Regions from separate parts of the Homo sapiens genome. Here all the other regions are linked to region 3. The links are contacts of gene promoters, found by promoter capture Hi-C in blood cells and fetal thymus (Javierre and others, 2016). All regions are on one chromosome and are shown on one strand. Each heading gives the region's core, a stretch centred on a gene start or on the middle of the fragment in contact. The rest is flanking DNA. Distances are from core to core; before and after follow the strand shown. Region 1 has its middle 44 kb from the start of MIR4289. Region 2 overlaps LINC02843 (long intergenic non-protein coding RNA 2843). Region 3 holds the start of S1PR3 (sphingosine-1-phosphate receptor 3). Region 4 has its middle 22 kb from the start of LINC02843. Region 5 has its middle 23 kb from the start of NXNL2. Region 6 has its middle 32 kb from the start of LINC02843.

The links. Contacts are between HindIII fragments. The CHiCAGO score rates a contact against its expected background, and 5 or more counts as called.
Region 1: a contact is called between a fragment that was not itself captured here and the fragment with the promoter of S1PR3 in region 3, in 1 of 17 cell types (endothelial precursors). The highest score is 5.6, in endothelial precursors.
Region 2: a contact is called between a fragment that was not itself captured here and the fragment with the promoter of S1PR3 in region 3, in 2 of 17 cell types (M2 macrophages and naive B cells). The highest score is 5.8, in M2 macrophages.
Region 4: a contact is called between a fragment that was not itself captured here and the fragment with the promoter of S1PR3 in region 3, in 1 of 17 cell types (endothelial precursors). The highest score is 5.1, in endothelial precursors.
Region 5: a contact is called between a fragment that was not itself captured here and the fragment with the promoter of S1PR3 in region 3, in 1 of 17 cell types (naive B cells). The highest score is 5.8, in naive B cells.
Region 6: a contact is called between a fragment that was not itself captured here and the fragment with the promoter of S1PR3 in region 3, in 4 of 17 cell types (M0 macrophages, naive CD4 T cells, naive B cells and 1 more). The highest score is 7.8, in M0 macrophages.

The regions. Positions count from the first base shown.
Region 1 is chr9:88,700,447-88,703,146 of GRCh38, reverse strand. No RefSeq gene overlaps it. Among named protein-coding and RNA genes, the nearest start is that of MIR4289, 44 kb to the left of the region's middle. The HindIII fragment of the contact is 1,287 bases long and covers 710-1,996 here.
Region 2 is chr9:88,647,246-88,649,945 of GRCh38, reverse strand. It overlaps LINC02843 (long intergenic non-protein coding RNA 2843), which reads left to right. Exons shown (of 4, transcript NR_144626.1): 2 at 2,286-2,700. Among named protein-coding and RNA genes, the nearest start is that of LINC02843, 3.6 kb to the left of the region's middle. The HindIII fragment of the contact is 2,190 bases long and covers 346-2,535 here.
Region 3 is chr9:88,990,140-88,992,839 of GRCh38, reverse strand. S1PR3 (sphingosine-1-phosphate receptor 3) reads right to left here and starts at 1,372. Exons shown (of 2, transcript NM_005226.4): 1 at 1,145-1,372. RefSeq lists a silencer at 1,532-1,826. The HindIII fragment of the contact is 3,077 bases long and covers 1-2,285 here.
Region 4 is chr9:88,672,577-88,675,276 of GRCh38, reverse strand. No RefSeq gene overlaps it. Among named protein-coding and RNA genes, the nearest start is that of LINC02843, 22 kb to the right of the region's middle. The HindIII fragment of the contact is 341 bases long and covers 1,280-1,620 here.
Region 5 is chr9:88,556,371-88,559,070 of GRCh38, reverse strand. It overlaps a transcript of NXNL2 not described here. Among named protein-coding and RNA genes, the nearest start is that of NXNL2, 23 kb to the right of the region's middle. The HindIII fragment of the contact is 1,121 bases long and covers 814-1,934 here.
Region 6 is chr9:88,618,932-88,621,631 of GRCh38, reverse strand. No RefSeq gene overlaps it. Among named protein-coding and RNA genes, the nearest start is that of LINC02843, 32 kb to the left of the region's middle. The HindIII fragment of the contact is 2,175 bases long and covers 255-2,429 here.

The sequences.
Region 1 (2,700 bases), core at 104-2,603, 290 kb after region 3:
TCTGGCTTCCAGCCTAGAGGTAAATAAACTCTATTACCTACTTCGCAGTCAAAATGAACATTTTCTGTGGGTTCTGCTCCCCTGGGCTGCTCATTCCACTCACCAGAATTGTGACTTCATATGGGTCTTCTTTTTATTAACATCCTGAGCCAACAGACCTAAATAATGTCAGTGATAAAATACTCCCATAAAAATCTTTTGTCCATTTAACATATTTATTATGCAGCCTTTTACCGAAAGTTGACTTATGGAAGCACTAATGAATACAACAAGTCAGGTTTTCTTCATCATGCCCCCCAAACCCCTTCCTCCATGCTCTAGCAGTGGTCAAGGGCCCAGTGTGTGGTGCCCAGGGAGCATATATCCATTAGACGCCTGTGACACCCTCCAGTTCTGCAGCCAACACGAACAGTGTGTGAGATGGAAAGCTCTCCTTCTAAGCACGCATTACCTTCCCCTTTCATCTTTGATCCTAACGTAGCAGCAATTTCTTTCCATTAAGGGGACATTTCTGGTCCCTTCTGGAAACGCATTTCTGTAATGAATATCACTCAGGTGCTAGTTCACTCCACACTAAGGACATTGCTATTCTTCTGCTTCTGGAGAAATCTCATGCTGTTCTGTATATAAAATATCACCTATTCTTCAGATATAGCCCCACAGAGGGAGAAGAAGCAATGACAGTTCAAGCAGAAAGAAGGAAGAAGCTTCTCTCAAGCAGAAAAAAGACTTTTTCTTTTCCTCACTGCATGATCAGAGCAGGCTGTCTGGGCAAGCTGTACCAGGCCACACAGGGACCTAGATAAGAGAACCGCCTATCCCAGCAGCACTAAATCACACAGTTTCTGCTTTGAGTTGGCCTTCATTTTAGACACAACAACTGGATAGCTTTATGGAGATGTCATTGATCAAATCTGAGAAACCCAATACTTATCCAAGTAAGGAGACATGAGAAAAAGTAAGGAGGGCAGAGGAGCCAGCACTTCTCAGCTGAATTGGGAAGGGTTCTTAGAGGCAGACAGATGCTAACTTCAGCAATGTACTGGAAGACTAGTAGGCAACTCATGGAATTGAGGGGAGATCAGGAGAGCCAGGCTCAGAAGCAGAACAGGAGCAGAAAGGGGTGGGTAGCTGAGGGCACAAGCAGTGAGAGGAGTCTCCTGTCTCCAGGAGGAATCACTGCCACCACCACAGTCTCCCCCCACCCCCAGGCCACCCTCCTGCCTCAGCCACCTCCCCCAGGAACGGTCTCTAAGTTACCCAGCATCTTTGCATCATTAATAAAGAACCCCTGGTGGGGGCTTCCAGCTGCCCTGGCCTAGATTTTTAACCCCACGCCAGCTTTCAGGAGGCAGGTGAGAGAGAATCTGGCTCCCCTTTAGCTTGCAGAGACAGAGAGAGTGAGTGAGAATTGATGCCTTCAGGAAATGGCCAAGCTCCATCCAGTATTTACCAATGCCACCAGGTGACAAGTGCTTGTGCATACTCCCAACTTTAACAAAAAATGAATTAGAGGATGCTGGAATCTCAATCAGCAGCCAAGGCTGTATGGTTAATTAGGATTTGTATTATTTTTATATTACTGCATAACATACTTCTACAAAGTTGGTGGTTTAACACACTCACTTATGGCAAGGCACAGTGGCTCACATCTGTAATCCCAGCATTTTGGGAGGCTGAGGCTGGAAGATAACTTGAGCTCAGGAGTTCAAGATCAGTCTGGTTAACATGGTGAAACCCCATTTCTATTAAAAATACAAAAATTAGCCGGGCATGGTGGCACATGCCTATAGTCCCAGCTACTCAGATGGCTGAGATGGGAAAATCACTTGAACCCAGGAGGTGGAGGTTGCAGCAAGCAGAGATCATGCCACTGCACTCCAACCTGAGCGATAGAGTGAGACCCTGTCTCAAAAAATAAATAAATAAATAAATAAAAAGAAAACACTCATTTACTATGTCACAGTTTCTGTTGGTCAGGGGTCTGGGTAAAGCTTGGCTGGAATCTCTGCATAGGGACTCACAAGATTGCAGTCAAAGGACTAGCCAGGGCTGGGTCCCACACAAGGCTTGGGGTCCTCCTCCAAGCTCTCGTGGTTGTTGGCAGAATTAAGTTCCTTGAAGCAATAGAAACACCTTGAAGCTGCGATGGTTCTGGTGTGCTTCAAATGCCATGGGGCTGCCCTGTGATTCCCTATGGGATGGCCAGAGACTCCACACAGGACCCTAAGCCACGTGGACATGCAATGTCTCCAAGGCCCATGGCAGAGCCATGGCTATGCTTCCCTGTCCAGCTGGAGAGCCTGCTGTGTCTCTGAGCTTCACCCACAGCTGCCAGCCTCCTGGTGAACCCACAGACATACCCAAACTTTGTGCCTGTTGCCGCTGCATTTTTAAACATTTTTTTGTAGAGACAAGATCTCACTATGTGCCCAGGCTGATCTTGAACTCCTCCTGACCTCAAGCCATCCTCCTGCCTCAGCCACCCCAAGCACTGGGATTTCAGGTGTGAGCCATCACACTTGGCCTGCCACTGCATTTTAAAGAAGCCAAACCAGAATCATATTTCCTTCTTAGCAATGGGGGTGCGAGGACAAGTAAAATGTCCTTCCCTTTGGAGAGGATGTGCTGCCATTACCCTCAGCCAAGTTCACACATGTGCCAAGCTTTTTACTGTTTTATCAGTCAAGGTTCTCCAGA
Region 2 (2,700 bases), core at 191-2,690, 340 kb after region 3:
TGATTTCTTCAAATATTTTTTCTGCCCTTCCCGCAACCTCTCTCCTTTACAGACTCTAGTTACACACATATTATAAGAAATATTGAAAGAAGTCTTCTAGGCAGAAGGAAAATGAAATGAAAACCAGATGAATATGAATGAACTGTACCAGAAATGATAACTATTAAATACATTGGTAAATATATATACTTTAGAATTTAAATCTTTTGAAAATATAATTGTTTAATCAAGAGTAATACCAATGTACTATGGAGTTCGTAACATACATAAAAGTGAATGTATGACAACAAAACCATAAAGACTATATAGGTGGAAAAGGGCAAATAGAAGTATATTATTTAAGCTTCTTATACTGTCAGTGAACCTGTATAATATGACTTGAAGGTAGACTATATTAAGTTAAATATTTTAAACCCTATAACAACTAGTAAAAGAACAAAACAAGGAGTTACAGCTAAAATCCAACAAAGAAGATAAAATGGAATCATAAAAATTTTCAATTAACTTTTAAAAAGGCAAAAATAGAGGAAAAGGGTAACACAGAATAAACGTTACAAATAGAAAGCAAATAGCAGGAGGAGATACTTAGACCTAACCACAGCAATAATCATATTAAGTATAAACGGTTTAAACACCACAATAAAAAGTCAGAGATTGTCATATTGAATCAAAAAAACAAGACCTAATAAACACAAGAAATTCTCTTTAAATATAAATAGACAAACTGATTAAAATTAAAATGTTCAACAACGATACACTGTGCTAACCCTTCTCAAAAAAAGACTGGATGGCCGGGGGCAGTGCTCACACCTGTAAACCCAGCAATTTGGGAAGCCAAGGCAGGCGGACGACTTGAGGTCAGGTGTTCAAGACCAGACTGGCCAATGTGGTGAAACCCCATCTCTACTAAAAATACAAAAATTAGCCAGGCATGGTGATGAGTGCCTGTAATCCCAGCTACTCAGGAGGCTGAGGCAGGAGAATCACTTGAACCTGGGAGGCAGAGGCTGCAGTGAGCCAAGATGACGCCACTGCACCCCAGCCTGGGTGACAGAGGGAGACTCTGTCTCAAAAAAAAAAAAAGACTGAAGTGGCTATATTAATATCAGACAAAGTTGATTTCAGATTAAAGAATATTTCCAGTGATAAAGAAGGAATTGGAAATGACTTTATACACTCTTGTATTATTTGAAAAAAATCAAATAATACAACGTGTAGCCTATTTGTGCATTTGAACATGTACCTATTTAGTAATTTAAACATTCAACACACTTTTCTTTAGGCTACTCCCTATACCTAGCACTGTTTAGGTATTGAAAAAAAAGGGGGGGGCGGATAAAGAAGTTGGACACAGCCCCAGACCTAGGGGAGCACAATCTGTTAGGGAGACAAGACACTAACTTTTTTTTAAGCTAATAAAAGATGTGTCAGATGTTAATTGAAAAATGGAAGTTCAGAGAAAAGAATATTTCTGGCACCATAGCAATTAGGGAAAGTTTCTAGAAGAGAGCTAAACCCCAAGAGTATGCACAGATAAAGAGAAAGAGGGAGGAAGAAAAGCATTTTATAATAATTGGAAAAATTTTAATTTATGTGGCTGGGTAGGTTTTCACTTTGCTTTTTTCCTCCTACTCGAGCAGAGGGACCATTTTGGTCTCATTGCTTCCAGGCTTTCTGGCTTTTGTGGAGAGTGGTTTGGGTGGATGCAGGGGAGCTGCTCTGGTGAAGGAGCCATGGCTGTGCAGGCCTTCCAGCAACCTACAGAGAAATAGCAAAGCCCTGGCCGCATGGAAGCCTGCCTGTCTTGCCATCCTTGGAAAGACTGGTGTGCCTGAATGCGGGGCATAAAACAACACATGTTTTTACACCCCATCCCAGGACAATGACTAAGACCAAGACCAAGTTATTACCTGTGTATAGAGATGACAAAGATCAACTGGGCACCAACCACCACCTTGAGAGTGGGTCACTACACAAGCCCCACAAATTTCACCCACCTCCACAGTGAGGGGACCCCAAAAGAGATGGAACTACCCTGCTCCACCAGCTCAGGGGAATGAGGCCTGAAGTAGATACTAAGTTGAATTACAGGTGATTTTTTAAAAACCTACACATCTGAGTTTGGGGGCTGAGATTTGTGTTCATAATACATATCAGCAGCTCAATAGTTAGAATCATTTTCTGATAATAAGATGATTACTCTTTCTTCTTTCTTAGGTACATTGAAGGAGGTCAGTTTGGAAAACCACAGTGTAGACACTTATTCTCTCTCCTTTGTGTTTCAGATAAACTCAGAGCAGGAAGACAGCAAGGAATAGCAGTGAAAAGCATGGTGCTTAATCCAACCCCTTACTCACTGCTGAGACCTGGAAATGTGTTCATCAGCTACAAAACAGGAGAGATGATAACTCATTATGTATATGTGATGATAAACAGAGACAATATATTGAAGAGCTTATATGAGTGGCAGACACGGGACATGCTTCCCTGTGGCTGGCCAGCGTGTCATCTTCTCCATGTGTCCAGAGAAAAGCTTTGCAAATCAACCTCTCGATGAATGATGACGGCACCAGTGAAATCAGGGGAGGCAGAAAATCATGTTAGTTTGGTTTATAATGCAAGAAGTTACAGAACACAGAGTGCTCAAAACTAAGAATGTGCTAGTTGTATAACAGGGTCCTTCTTGGGACTCAGCCAGGA
Region 3 (2,700 bases), core at 123-2,622:
TACTTTACAGATATGAACACTTCCACAACTCCTCAAGCGCACACACACACACACACACACATGCCCCGCACCATCACCACCTCCTCAACCAACACCAGCCCTGGGCATGGCCAGCTATCCTTGTTAGTCATGTATCTGCAGAGCATAATCCTTCCCTTGTACTTTCTAGGAATTATATTTTTCTTAACTATGCCTGCAAGATTTTCATCTATGAATAAAAAACATTGAAAAGATAAATTATGAATATGTGGTTATATACAAAGTCTGTGACTTCTAATGTCCAGATTTTAGAATGATGCCTAATTCTGGAGGTCTCAGAGGTCCAAGTGGGAGTGGGTACCATGAATGGGGGGGCCTCCATTTAAAAGTAACCTTCTAAAGAGCTCTCTGTTCCTGTAGCTCCCCTTTCCTTATTGGAAGGGTCAAAACGAAGTGTGTTCCCTTAAAAATCCAACAAGAAGTTCCTCTCTTATATCCAAATATAAAAACACCACAAAGAAATATACCATTGGGAGTGTCCAAAGCCAGAAAGTCAGAGGAAGAGAGAGAGAGAGAGAGAGAGAGAGACTGACTATTGGGAGACTCAAAAAGCCCAAAGCCCCTTCTCTAGCTGTTATCTCAGTTACGAACACAACGTACTGATTTTCCGTGGGAACCTCATTATTGCACTGTGGGGACTTCGTCTTCCAGCACCGATTCTGACGGCCCTAATTGCCTTGTTTGAGAAATGTTAGGAAAAAACTAATTTTCCGGCGAATATTGTTTAAAAGAATGATTTTCCCAGGCTAACGACCACAACCCTCTCCCACGTCCAGCATCCCCAGGCCCTGGCACTGTGGAAGCCTAACTTGTTAATTGTCCAAGGAAAACGACTGATGGAACTTCTCCACGAACAGCCTCTCCACTTTCATCCAGGTATTCAGCTCCAGCCCGTTGTAAACGCTCCGGGTGCGGTGGAAAAGGCCTCCTCCCTGTTCCTGCAGCGGCTCTGGGGGAGGGGTGCTGATGTGGAGCGCTCCGGCCGCCGTGGCGCGCCCAAGTCCCCGTCGCGCCCGGGATCGGTGGGGATTTTGTTGGAAAGGTGGGTCCTTCGGCCCCCAGCCCCCCACCCTGGTTCCGCGCCCCGCCCGGGCCCGCCTCTCACCTCCGTCGGCTGAGGGCGCTGGGGCCACCGGCATCCTAGCGGGTGGCGCGCGGCGGTGCCGGGGCGCCCGGTCCTGCGCTCGAATGCCAGATGGGCTGGGAGGCCCGGCAGTCTCAGCGCTCGCGACGTCGTTCCCGGGCCTGGGGTCCTGCTCGGTCGCGTCCTGCAGCCGCCTTCTGGTCCCTGAGTCCCTGTTGCCCGTCCCCGGAACCGGCTTCCTCGGCCTCTGCCCGAGCGAGTCAGAGACTAAACTTTTCCAGCGGCCCGCCGGGGCGGGACCCGCGCTCCGCCCCTCCCCTCGCCGCCCCCGACTCCCGCCCCTCTCCCCGCCCCCCTCTCCCCGTCCCCCGCCCGCGAACCCGGCACTCCTCCAGCTCCCCACCTCCCGCTCAAGCCGCCTGGTCTCCGTGCGCCCCGCCCGCCCCTAGCCTGGACCCCTTCTCCCCGACCCTACCAATCCCCTAGGGTCCGGCTCGCCCTTCGGCCCCTGTTCCCAGGCCGGCCTCCAGACCTTGTCCTCATCGGGCGAGCTCCAGGTGCAGAAACCGGGCGCCCAGAGACCCAGCGGGAACAGGCTTGGAACCAGGTCCGAGGTCTGGGCTTGGGCGGGCGCCTGTCGCCCTGACAGCGAGGGTTTGTTTGGGCCGATTCTTAATAGGAGGATTAATACTATCATTATCGTTGTCCAGATCCTGACCATTTCTTTTGTAACTGGCCGAGCACCGGCTTGGGCTTGCAGGTGGGCGCCTGGCGCCGGACAGCGTTTTTGTTTGGGCTTCTTCCTTTTCCGCGCGGGTCCCCTCCGGCGCCTGCCTGGTCCCTCTCCGCGCTCTACCCCCAGGCACGCAGAGACTTGGGCTCCAGGCGGGGGCAGCACTCTCCCCCAGCCTCTGCTGGTGCACCAGAGCCCACTCCGGCACAGAGCAGCGCCCCTCCTAGACCGGCAGCCAGCAGATCTCAGCCGACCCCCATGCGACCCCCTTCCTCACGCGGATTTGCCCCTTTTGTGTGGCAAAAATAATAATAATAATAATAAATCCATATGAAGGCTTCAAACAGAATTCCGAGAGAAGGAACTGCCAAATTTTCAATCAATGCCAAAGGCCATGATTGAGCGAACACAGAAACAACTGTAGAAGCTTGGGGAGAAAGGAGAAAATTAAAGAAAAAGGAGGAGGAGGAAAAGGAGAGAGGAGAGAAGCGGGAGGAAGAAGACGAAAAAGCAAGGAGAGGCCTGTTATCCGACCGTGCATTCCTGGGCCGGCAGGATTGGGCCGCAGGGGCCGCTGCAGAGAGTTGAGTTTGTGCAAAGGCCGCTCGTTACTTTCTGTCTTTTGCCCTCTTGCCTCCAGAGGATCAGCCCAGCGCATCCTTCTCTTGGAGCAGGGTGCATACGCTTATTTGGGGTGCAGTTTGAGCGGTGAAGGGCACCAAGAGTGGAAGTCGGCGGCACTCCTGTTCCCTGCAGAGAAACGCAAGCCCTCAGCAATTGAGCTGAAGGAGGCAAGTGACTCTGCCTGCTGAGGCTGCCAGCCCTAGAGGCTCTGGCCCCCGGG
Region 4 (2,700 bases), core at 201-2,700, 320 kb after region 3:
ATCACAAGGAACTGACTTACATGATTATGGGGCTGGCTAGGCAAGTTTCAAATCCATCTGGAAGCATTGTGGAAGGCCAAGCTGGAATGGGCATGGGTGGAGGCTGCTGTCCACGGGCAGAATTTCTTCCTCCTCAGGGAAGCCTTCACTCTGCCCTTGAGGCCTTCTGACTGATTGAACCAGGCCCACCCAGATCATCTACGATAATCTCCCTTACTTAAATTAGCCGATGATGAACTTTAATCATATCTGCATAATACTTTCACAGCAACACCTAGGCCAGTGTTCGATTAGGTAATTGGGGGCTGTGGCCAGTTAAGATGACACAGAAATCTGACCATCATGGGAGGTTAAGGGGAAGCTGTGGTCCAAGGGCTTTTGTCTCTATTTCCAATTAAGACTATCAAAGGTGACAGCACACTGAACATCAGAGGAAAACCATGGCCTGGGTTGGTGCCCCGAGTCTCCCTCAGTAGTCCTGCAAGAGGAGAGGCAGCGGAATCTTCCAGGCACCCTCAGAGTAAGGTGGACAGAGCTGATACAGGTATGTGAAATAGGCTCTGCTGGATGCACAATGGCACAGCCCTTTAGAAAGCGATTTGGTGACATAAGGAAAACATTGAGCCTCAGAAGTTCCTGCCTCTGACTGACAGCTTTCTGCACAAAGGTTTTGACTACACCATTATTTCCAGTAGCAAAAAATCAGTGGCATCCTGATGACCTGCCACAGAAGATAGTTTAGGAACTAGGATATACATCTGAAGCATCTTATACATCTATAAGCAAGAAGAAAAACAAGGGTCATGATGTCCATGTTACAACATAAAAAAAAAAAAACTTAAAAGATGGTACACCCCATTTTCTATTGTATGAGTGTTTTCATACTAATATAAATACAAATGTGTGTATATATGTGTGTATGTGTCATATATACACACACACAAATATATACATAACATCCTTTCCATTTTCACAAGAACAATACTGAAAGAATGTCCCATAAAGTGCTAAAAGTTATATTTGGAAGGAGATTTGAGAGACGACTGTCTATTTTCCAAATATTCTGAGAGGTGGTTGTTACTGCTTTTACAATATGGGAAAGAAATTATGAGCCTGCCTGGCTCATTATGGCTGCTTGTGGTTTCAATGCCTATGGGATTGCTGAAACCAAGCTTCAGCTGAGACCCCTGAATCCAAATTGCTTTTTAAATTAAGTGGCAGGAAACTTGGAATGCATATTTTGTCTCAAATTTGGTTAATAGGAACCAGATGCAAAGCTTCACCCAAACTTCGTTGTTTAGTGTTCTGGTACCCATTTACCCATTTGCTTGCTGAGCTAAAATCATTTTATTCATCTGCATCTTTTTGTGTGTTAATGCCTTGGATACATTAGTAAGATATGCCTACGATATGTTCTTTCCATGTAGTGAAAATGAACTTGCAAACATTAACGTGGGAATACAAGAAGTGTCTATTATTTTCCCAAAAAGCAAATGAAATCTGAGTCAGAATCTGCATCCCACTCAGTTGATGAAAATTCAACCTCCAGCATTATAGGAACCTCCTCCCAGCTCTACACGGTCCTGGGGCCCTAATGCCGAGTAGAATATTCTGAAAGCTTTTTCATTTTTCTGTCCACACTCCTGACTGCTGGGATGCTCTCCTTCCCAGCCAGGATAGGCCATGGGGTGAAGCGACATCCTCCCAAGTTGGTGAGGAGCTGGGCCTTCCCCAAGATGGCTTCTCCCACACAACCTGGCTTCTCTGGTCTCAGGAAATGGCGCCTCCTGCAGTGAGAGCTGCCGCTTCTGTCCCTGGAAACCCATCCCTCCGCCTGCAGCCTCCTGGGGTGTTTGCCAGGGAGAGCCTGGTAAACAATCTCCTCAAGTCTGGTGTGGAACATACACGCATACTACGCACCACATATACACATATATACCATACCACACACACACCATATATACCCCCACACACACCCCATACACCACACACAGACCACACACTACACACACTGCACCACACGCACACACCATACACACCCCACACCCCACACACAATAAACACAGACCAAACACTGGACACTTCACACCACACACACATGCCATACACACCCACGCACACACCACACACCACACACAGTACACACAATACACCACACCACACACATACACTATACATACCCCCCACACCCCCCATACACCACACACAATACACACAGATCACACACTACACGCACCACACACTACACACCATACATACCCGCCACACATCCCACACACCACACACACTACACTCACCACACCACACACATACACTATACATATCCCACACACACCCATACACCACACACAATACACAAACCAAACGCTGCACACACCACACCACACACACATCATACACATCCCACACACAATACACACACCACACCACACACATACAATATAAATACCCCACACACCCCATACACCACACACAATATACACAGACCACACACTGCATACACCACACACATACACACCATATGTACCCCACACACCACACACACCAGACGACACACACATACACTATACATAACCCCCACACACCTCATACACCACACACGATAAGCACAGACTACACACTACATACACCACACACATAAACACCATACATACCCCCACACACCCCACACACCACATACAGACCACACAGTACACACAC
Region 5 (2,700 bases), core at 125-2,624, 430 kb after region 3:
CTGTGTCTCTTGGGAAACACAGAGGGTATCAGTTGCATGCAGAGACATCTATTTGCTCAGCATGGAGAGCTTAAGGGAGGTTGAGTGCTGGGTGCCATAAGGGGAAAGATGGGGACAGGGACCACATCAGTGCTGATGGACCTGCCACCTGGGATCAGAGGGGACTATCTCCACCTGCCATCTCTCCCCTTGAGACCTAAGCCCCTACAGGTAGAAGGAGGCTAAGAGACAGGAAAAACCAAGGTATTTCTCCTATTCTCACTACCACTCACCACTCACTTCTGACATTAGATGTGTGGGGGTTTTCCCTACACATCAACCAGTTCTCCAGTGGACACCAGCTGGGAGTCTTATAATTCGATTCCATTTTGACACAACCTGCCTATAGTTAGCAGGCAGGTTGGGATATGTAGGGTCATATCCCACAGGTTAAGGGATCAGTCCCACAAGACGGCCTCTTCTACTTCAGACACCAACCAAGCCCCAGGTTGTTTAACCTGTGCTTTTGACCCAGTGGCTATACATAGGGGTTCCCATGACCCTCTCCTTAAGTTTGTTTAATTTGCTACAGGAGCTCACAGAAATCAAGGAAACACTTCACTTACATCTATCCATTTATTATAAAATATATGAAAAAGGATACAGATTATGTAAGGATGTCTGAGGATGAAGAGATGCTTAGGGAGATGCATATGAGAGAAGGGGTATGGAGCTTCCATGCCCTCTCCGGGAACACCACCCTCCAGGAATCTCTACGTGTTCAGCTAGCCAGAAACTCCCCAAACTCTGCTCTTTTGGGGTTTCATGGAAGCTTTATTATGTAGGCATGACTGATGACATCATTGGCCATTGGTGGTCAACTCAATCTTCAGCCCCTCTTCCCTCCCAGGAGGTCCCATCGGAGCTGAAAGTTCCAACCCTCTGACCACATGGTTGGTTCCCCTGGGAACCAGCCCCATCCTGAGGCTATTCAGGGGCCCCCAACCAGCAGTCATTTCATTGACATACAAAAGACTCATCACTCTGGAGATTCCAAGTGTTTTATGAGCCATGTGCCAGGAAACAGATGAAGCCCAAATATATATTTCACAGTATCACAGAGGCACAATCCTATTCCCACTGAACACGTTCTCAGTGATGTCTGCTGAATGAAGCAAGGGCAGAAAAATTGTTGCAGGGGAAATTTCCTGGAAAGAGAGAGCAAAGGCCCCTCATTCCAACTGTATGCTCAAACAGGAGAGTGAAATAATCCCTCCTGGAAATTATGCTCTATCTAACCTGCAGATTCTTGAGTGACTGCAGGGATTCTGATGAGTGGCTGCTGGTTGGCTGGTTTTCTGGGCTTTGCCATTCTCCTCCTCTGGGTAGTGTGAGGTGGAAAGCACAATTGTAAACCAAGGTTGCCAGTCAGCGCTCATTTTTGGACAAAGGTCAGTTGTTCAGAAATTAGACTATTCCTGCCTCCTGTCTTAGCTGTTGGTGGCTCCACTCCACCTGAACACAGGGTATAGGGAAGTCATTTCAAGCCCAGTGATTCTGCAAATTGGAATGACTCTGACAGCAAAAGTTGTTTGTGCATATGTTTGTGCATTTGCTTAATTCACGTTTACCTTAAGAACGTGCTCACCCTGTGATCTCTGCAGAAATCCTGACTCTGGTGCAGGAGCCTCCACTAGGAAAATTTGGAAAATTTGATGCCCAGCATGAAAGGAAAGCCACCCAAGCCTGTGATTTCTCAGGTCTCTTTTAAAGCCAATGTCCCAACAGTATTGTCAACCTAAAATAATCAAAAGGTTCAGAATCTAGTTCAAAGAGAATTTATCCCAACAGTACAAAGTTGAGGACAGCCCACTTGGGAAGAATGTATTCCAAAGAATGGAAATCTGTGCTTCAAAGTGTAGTAGAAGTTTGGGATTGCTTGTATGAACAAAGCTTAGGGAAGCTTAACAGAATTTCAACATCTTTCTTTTTTTTTTTTTTTTTTTTTTTTGAGATGGAGTCTCACTCTGTCACCTAGGATGGAATGCAGTGGCATGATCTTGGCTCACTGCAACCTCCGCCTCCCGGGTTCAAGCGATTCTCCTGTCTCAGCCTCCTGAGTAGCTGGGACTACAGGGGTCTGCAACCACAACCAGCTAATTTTTTTTTGCATTTTTTAGTAGAGACGGGGTTTCACCGTGTTAGCCAGGATGGTCTCGACCTCCTGAGCTCATGATCCGCCTGCCTTGGCCTTCCAAAGTGCTGGGATTACAGGTGTGAGCCGCTTGCACCTGGCCTAACATCTTTCTATGGAAGGCTGAATGCATAATTACAACAATCTGATGAGCCAAAGTGTTGATAGCAGTAGAAGGCAGACAAATTCCTAGGCAGACAGGGGCAGGTCCCCAATGAAACCTGATCTTCAAGCCATAGACAGCCTGAAGCCTGAAAACCAGGCAGCCAGCTCCAGGTAGAGTCCATGACCTGAGTGAGAACTTCCTTGATGCTTTTATAGCCAGTCAAATGGTGCTTTTTCCAGGACTGCTTATGGACCAATCAGCACACACTCCCCCATTCTGAGCCCATGAAACCCCTGGACTCAGCTACATGTTGGGACTACCCACCTTCAGATATGGGTTACCCACTTCGGGTCCCCTCTCATGTCAAAAACTGTTCTGTCACTCAATAAAACTCTTCTCTGCCTTGCTGACTCTCCGCTTG
Region 6 (2,700 bases), core at 93-2,592, 370 kb after region 3:
AAGAATGACTTGCAGGCAAGAGATAAAGAGAGGGTTTCTGCCATTTCAGGAGAATTTCCTACATGATCCTCCTCCATGATTTTCAGATTAGTAGTTTTCAAATAAAGCCCTTTCTCTCTATCCTGAACAAGGTGTCCTGCTGCTAAAATTAAATTATGCCAATTTCTTACCAAGTACTCATACATATACAATATGGATAAAATTTTCTTTATTTTAAGTTTTTCTCTCCTAAATTTTTCTTAAATTTAGAAGCTTGGTACCAATTATCCACTGAGAACTGGTAGAAAACAAAATGAATAAAGAACAAATGACTAGTAGAAAAAAACCTACACAGACAATATGTTCAGTTAATACTTTGTGGCATTTTGAATGTATTTTCACATGCACTTAAGATTATTTCACATTATGCAAATATATTTTCATAATTATTCCTAACTTGTGTGTCTCATTAAATGAATTGATATTTCCAATGTCTTACCAAGGCATACTGTGACCCTTATCTGGAGGTTAGCTTCCTGAACAAAATCAATAGCACTGAAGATGAGATTCATTCTAATTCACCATCTCTTCTGGTCATTATAATTCTGATCTTTGTCTTCCATAAAAATATATATTGGAGGAAAACAATTTTTAATGTTCTGCCCTGGAAAATACAGACTAGGAAAATATCTTCCTAGTGGCACCCAGTCAGCTTAATTTTCTGGGGCCACTATGCTCTCCTCTTAGTGAGACATCTAAGAGGAAGAAGAGTCTTCCCTCATACCTGGAAATTCTTTCTCTTCCCCTCTGATAGCGTGCGCAAACTTGACGTTAGCAATGCCTATGGTGCTATTCACCTCTCCAGGGTAGGAATCCTTCATCCATAGCCTCCCACAGTACCTTGTCATAGAGAAGTGGTAAATAATTTTCTGTTGAATGAATGACTGGCTCAGAAGTCTCAGAAGACCTAATTCAGTTCCCAGGGCTTTCTCATCACAGCTTTCCTCAGCCAAGGATCCACAGGAGAATTAACCTACAGGCAAGTTGCAGAATGCAAGGTAATAATTTTTTTTAAAAGTTAATTGCTTTCTTACATAGCAACAATGAACACTGAAATTGAATATTAAAAACACAATATTGTTTTTATTATCATCAAAAAGTGAAGTCCTTGGGTATAAATCTGTAATGGAAATGGCACAGCAAAGGTTGCCATGTTTAGGCATTAGAAATAGAACACCACACTCAAATTGCTCAAGCCAGTGGCCAGAGATAAAAACTTATAGGTATCTCTCCTGCCTAGCAGCCTGGGCTCTCTGTTTTTTCTGCTGCTTCCTTTAAGCAGATGAGCCTTCAATCTGAATTTGTGCCTTCCATCTGAAGAACCAAGGGCTACCCCAGGCTGGGTTTTCCATGGGAAACTGAGGAGAACACAAGGTTGGGCTCGCAGCACCAAAGCAATAGTCAGGTAGGCATAAATTGGACAAGGTCAAACAAGAACCACAAGGTCATCTGCTAAGGTAAACAAGTTTCCTGTGTGAGGGACACTGTTCATAGGTCAGAAAATGAGGCATTAGGCTGTCTACCAGGTAAAATAAGTATCGCATGAAAGGCACACTATAAACACCCCCATCTACTACCCTTCATTTCTTGTTAGGGTAGAGTTACTAGCCACTGTGGTACTGGAACACCAATTTAGCTAGGGGCTTTCAAAACAAAACCTAACAAAATATGTACAAGACCTATATGAATTGCACAAAAACTACAAAACTATGATGAAAGTCAAAGAATACCTAAATAAATGGAGAGATATTTCATGTACATAAATAGAAAGATTTAATATTGTCAAAATGTCAGTTCTTCCCAACTGATCTATAGATTCAACATAATCCCAATTACAATCTCAGCAAGCTATTGTGTGGATAATAACAATAAGACTCTAAAGTTTATATGGAGGGGCAAGAGACCCAGAATAGCCAAGACAATATTATAAAACAGCAAAGCTGAAGGACACAAACTAATTTCAAGACTTACTATAAAGCTAAAGTAATAAAAACAATATGGTATTGGCAGAAGAAGAAATAAATAGATCAGTGGAACAGAATCCAGATCCCAGAAACAGACCCACGTAAATACAGTCATCTGATCTTTAACAAAGGAGCAAAAACATTTCAGTGAAGAAAGGATAGTGTTTTCAACAAATTAGGTTGAAACAATAGGACATTCACAGGAAAAATAAGGATCCAGACATAGGCCTTACACTTTTTACAAAAATTAACTCAAAATGGATCATAGGCCTAATTGTAAAATGCTAAATTATAAAATTCCTAGAAGGTAATATAGAAGAAAACCTAAGTGTCCTTGGATTTAGTGTTTAGATGCCACACCAAAGACACAATCCATGAAAGAGAACATTGATAAGTTGGACTTCAGTAAAATCAAAAATATAAGCTTTGCAAAAGATCATGACAATAAAAAAAATCACAGACTAGAAAAAACATTTGCAAAACATATATCTGTTAAAGGACTGGTATCCAAAGTATACAAAGGCCTCTTAAACTCAATAATGAGACAATAAACAACCCAACTGAAAATTAGGCCACAGATCTGAACAGACACTTCACTGAAGAAGATACACAGATAGCAAATAAGCATATGAAAATATGTCCAACATTATATGTCATTAAGGAAGTTTTTAAAAAGCAATTAAGGCCAGTCGCAGTG